Linked DNA regions of Homo sapiens: regions 1 and 3 are each linked to region 2. The links are contacts of gene promoters, found by promoter capture Hi-C in blood cells and fetal thymus (Javierre and others, 2016). All regions are on one chromosome and are shown on one strand. The core of a region is centred on a gene start or on the middle of the fragment in contact, and the rest is flanking DNA. Distances in the headings are between cores, read along the strand shown. Region 1 has its middle 48 kb from the start of MIMT1. Region 2 holds the start of ZNF229 (zinc finger protein 229). Region 3 has its middle 78 kb from the start of MIMT1.

Region 1 (3,027 bases), core at 31-2,530, about 12 Mb after region 2:
CAACCACCACTCAGTGACACCTTGACCTCCTGGGCTCAAACAATCCTCCCGTCTCAGCCTCCCAAGTCTCAGCACACCTGGGACTACAGGTGTGCATCACCACGCCCAGCTAATTTTAAATTTTTTGTTAGAGACGGGTACTTCCTATGTTGCTCAGGCTGGTCTTGAACTCCTGGGCTGAAGTGATCCTCCCACCTCAGCCTCCCAAAGTGTTGGGATTACAGGCATGAGCCACTGTGCTTGACCAACCCACATCTCATTCAGCTCCTGCACCATTTCTCTTCTCCCCCTTAGAACTAACTCTATAGCCTCATCTTTACTTTTGCATTTCTCTATCTCTCTTAACCTCATTCCAATCAAGCTTTCATCTATACCATTTTACTAAAAGGCCACCAATAATCTCCACATTGGCAAATCCAGTAGTTGAGTTCCAGCTGTCATAAGGACTTGACAATTTGTCACCTGTCCTTCTTCTTCCTTTTTTTTTTTTTTGAGACAGAGTCTCACTCTGTCACCCAAGCTGGAGTACAATGGCATGGTCTTGGCTCACTGCAACCTCCACCTCCTGGGTTCAAGTGATTCTCCTGCCTCAGCCTCCCAAGTAGCTGAGATTACAGGCGCACACTGCCATGCCCAGCTGATTTTTGTATTTTTACTAGAGACGGGGTTTTGCCATGTTGGCCAGGCTGGTCTCAAATCCCAACCTCAGGTGATCTGCCCACCTCGGCCTCCCAGAGTGCTGGGATTACAGGCATTAGCCACCGTGCCTGGCCCAACCCGTCCTTCTTAGAAGACTTGAGTCCACACTGAATTGGGTTCACCAGACCTCCCTGACAATTCTCTCTTCTGGCTTTCTTCCTACCTCCCCTGTTGCTGGATATGGAAGCAATGATACTTTCTCCCCTTTCCTTCTCTATACTCCCTATACCCCACTGGGATAGAAATCCTGTCTCTTGGTGTCAGGCAGGGGTCTCAGGCTACCCCTCCTCTGCTGGGGTGGAAGATGGAGAGGTCAAAAGAGCCAGTCTCCTTCCTGGCCCTTGCAAGGGCCTCCAGCCCGACAGCCAGAGGGATTAAGGACAAGAGGCTCCTGGCATCCCTGAGTCTGACCAGATTGTAGTAGCCAGCCTCCAAAGTGGCCCGCAATAATCCTCACTCCCTAGTAGTGCTCACAGTCTTGTGGTCTCTTCTGACACCGACCCAGAGCTGGTTCATGACCAGCTGAGGCTGAGGGAAGTGTGAAGGGAGAGTCTAGGAAGTTTTTGATTCTCATTTGAACCCTTCCCATTGCAGCTGGAAACAGCAGAACATGGAGGAAGTGATAGTGTGTGTGACTTCTAATGCTAAGTCATAATGGACATCGTAGTTTCCACTTGGATCACTTGCTTGGGAGTAGGGGTAGGAATTCAGCCACCATGTTGTGGAATACTCAAGTAGCCCCTGGAGAGGTCCAGGTGCAGAGGAATCAGCTTGCCAGCACCAACTTGGCAAACTTCGAGTGAGCCACGTAGATTCTCCAGCCCCAGTCAAACCTTCTGACCACCTCATGAGAGACCCCAGACCAGAACTGCCCATCAGAGCTGTTTCCAAATCCCCAACTTTCAGAAACCATAAAAGATAATAAATGATTATTGTTTTAAGTTAATACATTTTTGCATGATTTGTTATGCAGCAAATTGCTAACCAATACATATTCTTTCTCATATTCCTTTCCATGTTTTTCTACTATCATGTCTCAATTCTAGAGTGCTCCAGAGTTCAGTGCTCAGATCTTGTCTACCATCTGGATTTGATACCTAAATGATCCCACACATTGCTAAACTTTGCAATAGCATCTATATATTGTTAAATCTCAGATTTATAGCTCTAGCTCAACATCTCCCATGAATTCCATCAACCCACTGTTTATAGGAAATTTCCACTTAGATGTCTTATAGTACTTTCCATCTTAACATAGCTACGAGTGAACACCTCATCTCACCTCATCCCTGACACAGCTACGTACCCTCAGTCTGCCCATCTCAGTAAATGACAACTCCATCCTCCCAGCTGCTCAGACCTAAGGCCATTTTTGATTCACAGCTCTGCATATCCAATCCATCAGCAAATCCTGGTTGGCCCTCAATATGATAGTGGCTTGGACAATAATACTGATTAGATTCAGGAAGAATGTTCCAGGTGAATGCTCAGAGGTAGAACCAAGCTTATGTTCTCCAGAAACTTCAAGGAGGCTGTGGTGGGCTAAATGTTGCCTTCCCCTAAAAAGATACATCCATGTCCTAATCCTAATATTCAGAGCCTGTGAATATTGCTTTGTTTGAAAAAAAGGTGGGGAGGTGTTGTGGGAGATATGATTATGATTAAGTTAAGGTTCTTTTGTTTTTTTTTTTTGAGAGACAGGGTCTCACTATGTCACCCAGGCTGAGTGCAGTGGGACAATCACAGTTCACTGCAGACTTGACCTTCCAGGCTCAAGCGATCCTCCTGCCTCAACCTCCCAAGCAGCTGGGACTACAGGCATGCACCACCATGCCTGGCTAATTTTTTTTTTTTTTTTGAGACAAAGTCTCGCTCTGTCACCCAGGCCGGAGTGCAGTGGCTCAATCTCGGCTCACTGCAAGCTCCGCCTCCCGGGTTCACGCCATTCTCCTGCCCCAGCCTCCCGAGTAGCTGGGACTACAGGTGCCCACCACCATGCCCGGCTAATTTTTTGTATTTTTTAGTAGAGACGGGGTTTCACCATGTTAGCCAGGATGGTCTCGATCTCCTGACCTCGTGATCTGCCCACCTTGGCCTCCCAAAGTGCTGGGATTACAGGCGTGAGCCACCACGCCCGGCCCTGGCTAATTTTTGCTTTTTTGTAGAGACAGGTCTCACTGTGTTGCCCAGACTGGTCTCAAACCTGAGGATCTCAAAGCGATCCTCATGCCTCAGCTTCCCAAAATGCTGGGATTACAAGTGTGATCAACTGCACCTGATCTTTTACCATTTTTTAATTGTGGTAAAATAGACATTACATAAAAATTT
Region 2 (2,880 bases), core at 156-2,655:
AACCTTAGCAACTCATCTGTGACATGGGGATAATAGCTAACATACAAACTTGCTCAGAAAATTCAATAGAAATACATTCATTTATTCAAATATTTATTGGCAAGCCTGGCACTGTCCTAGACACCATGGATAAATAATACCTGGCATATAGTAAGCACTCAGTTAATATACACCATCACAGTTACTCTAATTATTTCTACCCTGCGTTTCTTCAGCATGGCGCTGAAACAGTGTAAGCCTTTACTGACCCAGTGACACACTACTAGGAGCCAAGAAGAGAATACACTAAATAAAGACACTGGGAAATTCCTCAAACCTCCCCCATTTCTAGGGGAAGGCAGGTGTGGCTAAGGGGTCTGAATGAACATTTGTGATATCAATGGGATGAAGAATGAGGTCACCAAGAGACCTGGCATTGCCACAAAAGAGAACCAAAGTTCACTCACCTGGAGCTCTAGTGTCAAGAGATGTGGGGTTATTTCTCCTTCTTTTATACAATTATCTCCGAGAAACGAACAATTCCAAGAAGGAAGCCTGTGAAAGAAAAATGAACAGCAGGATAACATGATTTAATCCCAATTCCCACCACGCCACAGGGGGAAATCTCTCAGTGCCAGCTGGATGTAATCTACCCCTTCCTGTAATCTACCCTCGCTACTTGCTTCAGGAGCCGAGGAAAAGAACCTCTCTTCCTACAGGACTCAGAGTACAAGGGACACGCCATTCCTGATGCCCAAAGAAACCGTCTACAAGCCTACTTTCACTGCCCCTTTCAGGAGACAAGGAGAATCAAGACAAAATCTCAAGATTTTAATCCAGAGCTGACTGTCACATGCTGTGGGACACTTACAAGTGAAATTCTGCCTGTGTGTGCTTAGGCGGCTACAAAAAGCAGAGCCAGCAACGATACAGCAAACCAACTCCTAGGACTTGCACAGCGCTTAATACATTTCAAAGGATAAAATTAGAACACAGGGAATCAACTTCCTGTTTACAGAAATGACTTCGCAGAAAACTCTGAAATTACTCCACAAGTGGGTGGGCGGCTACCCTGAGAAAATTCATGTCATCGATCCGCAACTGACACAGTGGAGTCTCCCGCACTGCAGATCTCATCTCAAAGCCAGAGCTGGCCTCAAACTGCTTTTCCAAGCCTGGACTGCGAGGGCTGCCGACCCGGGCCCACCCCGCACAGGCGCTCAGAATGTTCGATACGTGCGCCTCCTTACACCCCTGCCTCACCAGGCCGAGCTCATGGAAATCCGTGGGCTTCGACCCTCCGCCGCACGTTGTCCCTTCACACTGGTCCTATAGAGCCGATCCTAATTCCCATGGCCTGACAGTACAACCGCATGGAGATGCACGTCTCTAAGACGCCTCACCACTGCCTAAGAAGCAATCAAGGTGACGCGCCCACCGGAAACGGAAGTAGTCGACTCGAGGTGTGGGACTACCTTTCCCAGAACCCTCCGCAGCGCAGTCCGATCCTAGGGGCGATGGTGTCGTAAATGCGCGTCCACCTCGAGTCACGCCCACTGCGAGGCGGCGGGAGGCGGCATGCAAGGTGTTTCTGAGTTGAAAAGAATGTCTTTACTCAGTACTAACATATTCGCGTTGTAGCAAACCTGACTATATTCTCAAACAAGCCCATCATCCCATCACCAGGGATATAAAGCATTATTGATTTTCTGGTGTAAAAGCCAACTAAATATTTATTTCAAAAGTAGTTCATATTACATGTAAAGAATGGTTTAAAAAAAATTCTTACTTAATCCCTGGTTTATGTGAGTAAATATGAATTCTTAAGAATCCCATTTCCCAAATGGCATCATAATATTTTGTAATCATTTCTTGCCACAGGTCATATATCGTGGATAGTTCTGTATGTCACAAAAGACGTAGAGATACATAGAGATAATAAAAAAACACAAATTATTTGCAATACTTGCCTAGCATTCTTTAGTTTTTAGGGAAGTTACCCCTTTGTCCTGCATTGAACTTACACTTCTAATTTTATGATATCAAAACTACACACAATCACTTTCTTTAATATTTTCCCAATTTGATGGACTAAATATCCTGTCTTATTTTCCCAATTTGACAGAGTAAATATGCTTATTACCGATTGCATTTCATTGTCATCTTTTATTGTCATACACTCTCTGTGTATGAATGATATCGCTTCTAAGTGATGAATTGCTCCCCCAGTTTCAACATTTATAAAGTAGTTTAGAAAAAAAAAAAAACAAAAAACTTCATCTGACAAGGTATATCAGTCTTTTCATTTGTGGCTTCTTTTTTTTCTCCAGTATGACCAAAAAGACATTCCTTAGCCTGATTCCCAATAAGTGCATATCTATATTCATTTCAGGCTCTTTCATTTTTCTTTTGAATCACCGCGTGATTCATTTAAGTGTATGATATGAAAGGAAGATGGAGTTTCCTGTTTCACCAAAGGATTGTCTACTTTTCTTAACAAAATTTACATAAATATTAATTCTTTCCTTTCTGATTTAAACGGCATCCTAATCACTTACTACATTACTATATATATAATGAAATATTTTCTGGGATACAAGTGTGTTCTGAAGATAGAGATTGCTTTTTCTGTGCCATGATGAAAGGTTTCAGTTACAGTGATAACTCATTTCCTTATCTCTCCCTCCTTGTTGTGTTTCAAAAATTTCATCCTAGAAGTTCTAGAACTCTCTCTTATAAACAGATTATCGAATTGTTTTGATAAATTCTAAAAAATTGCCAATTGACTCCAAAGCATCCAAGCCCTTCAGATATTTGGTTCCAAACCCACCCCTCTTTGCTTGGGTAGACACAGTCCTACTTCCCATCCTGTGTCCTCCAGTTTTACAAATGTCTGAATTT
Region 3 (2,996 bases), core at 238-2,737, about 12 Mb after region 2:
CAGTTTGGCTACAATGAAGCAGCTACAGCCAATGTAAAGCTAAACTAAAATCTGCCAAAAAAATGAAACGAAAACTTCAAGTCAGATCATTTAAACAGCACAGAAGTTTCCAGGAACTCCCTTACAATTGGGATCGCTGTAGCTGTCACAAGGAGTTAAAGGAAACATGCTTCTGTCGCTGTTAACTAGCTGCATCCGGTGAATTGGGCAAATTTGGCCATTCAGGGAATTAACCATCCACAAAAGTAAATAAATAAATAAATAAAATAAGCCAGTCATTTGAAGAACTGATTTTCAGGGAATTTATTTAGCGTTGGTAATGTCTAAAAGTTACATGTGTGGTTGTTGGTTTTATGATTATCTTTAATGCATTCCGATGTATATTTATATATACGATCTTCTCCATGCCTGACATATTTCACGGTAAGATAAAGAAATTCCCGTGGCTTATAAGGAATGGAGACTGAATTTGAATTCAAGTTGTTTAGAAAGAAATGGATGAGCACTGAACCCACATATTTGAATTTTTTAAAAGTCCAGCTGACAGATGTTGAATCAGCTTATCCCCCTGCTGGAGAATTTTGCCCCAAGGTAAAAGCAAGCTTTGATTTCAGCACCGTATGCATCGCAGTGAAGTTGGGCAAATGAATGGTGTCTTCCATACACAGCACTACGTGTTTGGCATACGGAATCCCTCCCTTGCCCAGCAGTAAACAGACTTGAATACACCATCTGTTTGCACACCAACTGTTTGCAAGGAAATTTTTTTTCCTTTTCTTTTTTTCTCTGTGAAGTTAATGTTGTGACAACTTTATATTTTCTTTTTTTAAAAAAACAGAAATCTGTGTTTGTGTTTACTTAGACCTGGGCTACCTTAGATGGTTCTCAGGCTCACTTATACACTTTCATGTGTTCCATTAAAAAATGTGATCGCTTTCTTTTTCTTCTGATTTTGGTTGCAAAGGCTAAGAACTTTCAGAACAGAATTTTGTTTTTGTCTTTAATACGGAGACGTTTCGTGTTGTTCTCTGGTTTTTCAGATGGGTGGACACAGAAAAGACAACTAATACCCTGAAATTGGTTGAAACTTGATTATTCATTCTTAAAGTCTGATAATTATAACTGTCCAGTAACTTGATAATTCCAGTTCTGTTTTCCTGTTTAGAACCTCTACTTTCTTATTTGAGAAAAAATGTTTGAGGATGTTATCTCAGTATGTGTTTACTTATCTTAGTACACATTCCCTTGAACTTTTCGCTTATCATGACCATTGAAATATCTTGGAACATCAGTGTTAGAAAAGCAGGAAGAACGTGGGAAACTCCCCCTGTGTGCACGGTGGGCCCCTCTATGAATTGCACCAGACAAATTCCAAACAAAGTGATGGAGAAAATCCCCCAAGAAAATTAGCAGTCTTTTTTATTCAAACTTTTTTATTCAAACTTTTTGTTGTACTGTGTCAACAGCTCTCTGGAGACCACCGTGTGCCCCTCCTGTTCCACAGCCACCCCAAAGCAACTGTTAAAGATGTTTTGTGGGCTGGGCACAGTGGCTCACACCTGTAATCTCAACACTTTGGGAGGCGGAGGCGAGCAGATCACCTGAGGTCAGGAGATTGAGACTAGCCTGGCCGACATGGTGAAACCCTGTCTCTATTAAAAATACAATAATTAGCTGGTTGTGGTGGCAGGCACCTGTAATCCCAGCTACTCAGGAGGCTGAGACAGGAGAATCGCTTGAATCCAGGATGCGGAGGTTGCAATGAGCTGAGATTGCACTCCAGCCTAGGCAACAAGAGTGAAACTCTGTCTCAAAAAAAGAAGAAGAAGAAAAGGAGGAGGAGGAGGAGGAGAAAGAAGAAGAAGAGGAAGAGGGAGAGGGAGAGGGAGAAGGAGATGGAGAAGGAGAAGAAGAAGAAGGAAGACGAAGAAGAAGAAGGAGAAGAAGAGCAGCTACCTTGACAGGGACGTCCACCTTGGAAGGTGACATGCTCTGGGTGAAAAGGAAAGTTGGTTTTATTCCAGAAGTGGCACCCCTGGGGAGGCGGTGAACAGTGGAGGCGTGTTCCAAGACCACCTCTCCACGTGTGCCTCCGGATCAGGGAAATTAGGGGAGCTTAAATGATGGTCAAAGTGCTTTTGGGAAACGTGCACGGGCTCAGGCGGACAGTTAATCGCGGCTTCCTTGGTCAATGTCCCTGGCCTTCTGCAGGAATGCTCAAGCTGTTCTTATCAGGGCGGTCAGCACATTCCCAGGGTGGCTGGTCAGCTGCTCTCTCTTTTATCTCTGTTGAAGGCCTTGTTCTCCGGAGGCTGTTTTTAATAAAGAAGCTACAAACTCGAGCAAAGCAAGGATTCTATGCAAGCAAGCAAGCAAGCTTTTCTCTAACACGGAGTCAGTACTGTGACACAACTTCACTGTCTTCATCCTGTCCAACTCCTCACCTTGGAAAGCCTCCCCTGCACCCCCATTGTTTAAAACAACCACAAAACCCTCTGCACAGCTTTCTTCCCCGAGTCCTCCTGGTGATTCTGCACCTCCTGGGTCTTCTCATTCACTGAACTGAGTGGGTTCCTTCTCAAAACCTGACCTTTAAATACAGACGTTTCTGAAGGACTCTGTCCGGGGCTCCTTCCCTTCCCTCTCCACATCCTCTCCTTGGTGGATTTCATGGGCCGCTTGGCTTTATATGCCGTCCATATGCCCCAGACTCCCTGCTGTAGACTGACTGTGTGCACCCATTCCCCATTCTTATGTTGAACTCTTACCTTCACTGTTTTCCACAATGGCTGAACTAATCTACACTCCCACCAACAGTCTGTAAGCATGCCCTTTTCTCTGCCACCTTGCCAGCATCTATTATTTTTTTACTTTTTAGCAGTAGCTATTCTGACTGGTGTGAGACAGTATCTCATTGTGGTTTTGATTTGCATTTTTCTTAATGATCACTGATACTGAGCTTTTATATATATATATACTTCTTGACCCATCAATCC

The links. The method cuts DNA at HindIII sites, captures the fragments that hold promoters and counts their contacts. A CHiCAGO score of 5 or more calls a contact.
Region 1: a contact is called between a fragment that was not itself captured here and the fragment with the promoter of ZNF229 in region 2, in 1 of 17 cell types (total CD4 T cells). The highest score is 7.4, in total CD4 T cells.
Region 3: a contact is called between a fragment that was not itself captured here and the fragment with the promoter of ZNF229 in region 2, in 2 of 17 cell types (non-activated CD4 T cells and naive CD4 T cells). The highest score is 10.8, in non-activated CD4 T cells.

What each region holds. Positions count from the first base shown.
Region 1 is chr19:56,887,347-56,890,373 of GRCh38, forward strand. No RefSeq gene overlaps it. Among named protein-coding and RNA genes, the nearest start is that of MIMT1, 48 kb to the left of the region's middle. The HindIII fragment of the contact is 1,842 bases long and covers 360-2,201 here.
Region 2 is chr19:44,447,067-44,449,946 of GRCh38, forward strand. It overlaps ZNF229 (zinc finger protein 229), which reads right to left and starts at 1,406. Exons shown (of 6, transcript NM_014518.4): 1 at 1,243-1,406; 2 at 447-534. The HindIII fragment of the contact is 11,359 bases long and covers 1-2,880 here.
Region 3 is chr19:56,917,584-56,920,579 of GRCh38, forward strand. No RefSeq gene overlaps it. Among named protein-coding and RNA genes, the nearest start is that of MIMT1, 78 kb to the left of the region's middle. The HindIII fragment of the contact is 1,775 bases long and covers 601-2,375 here.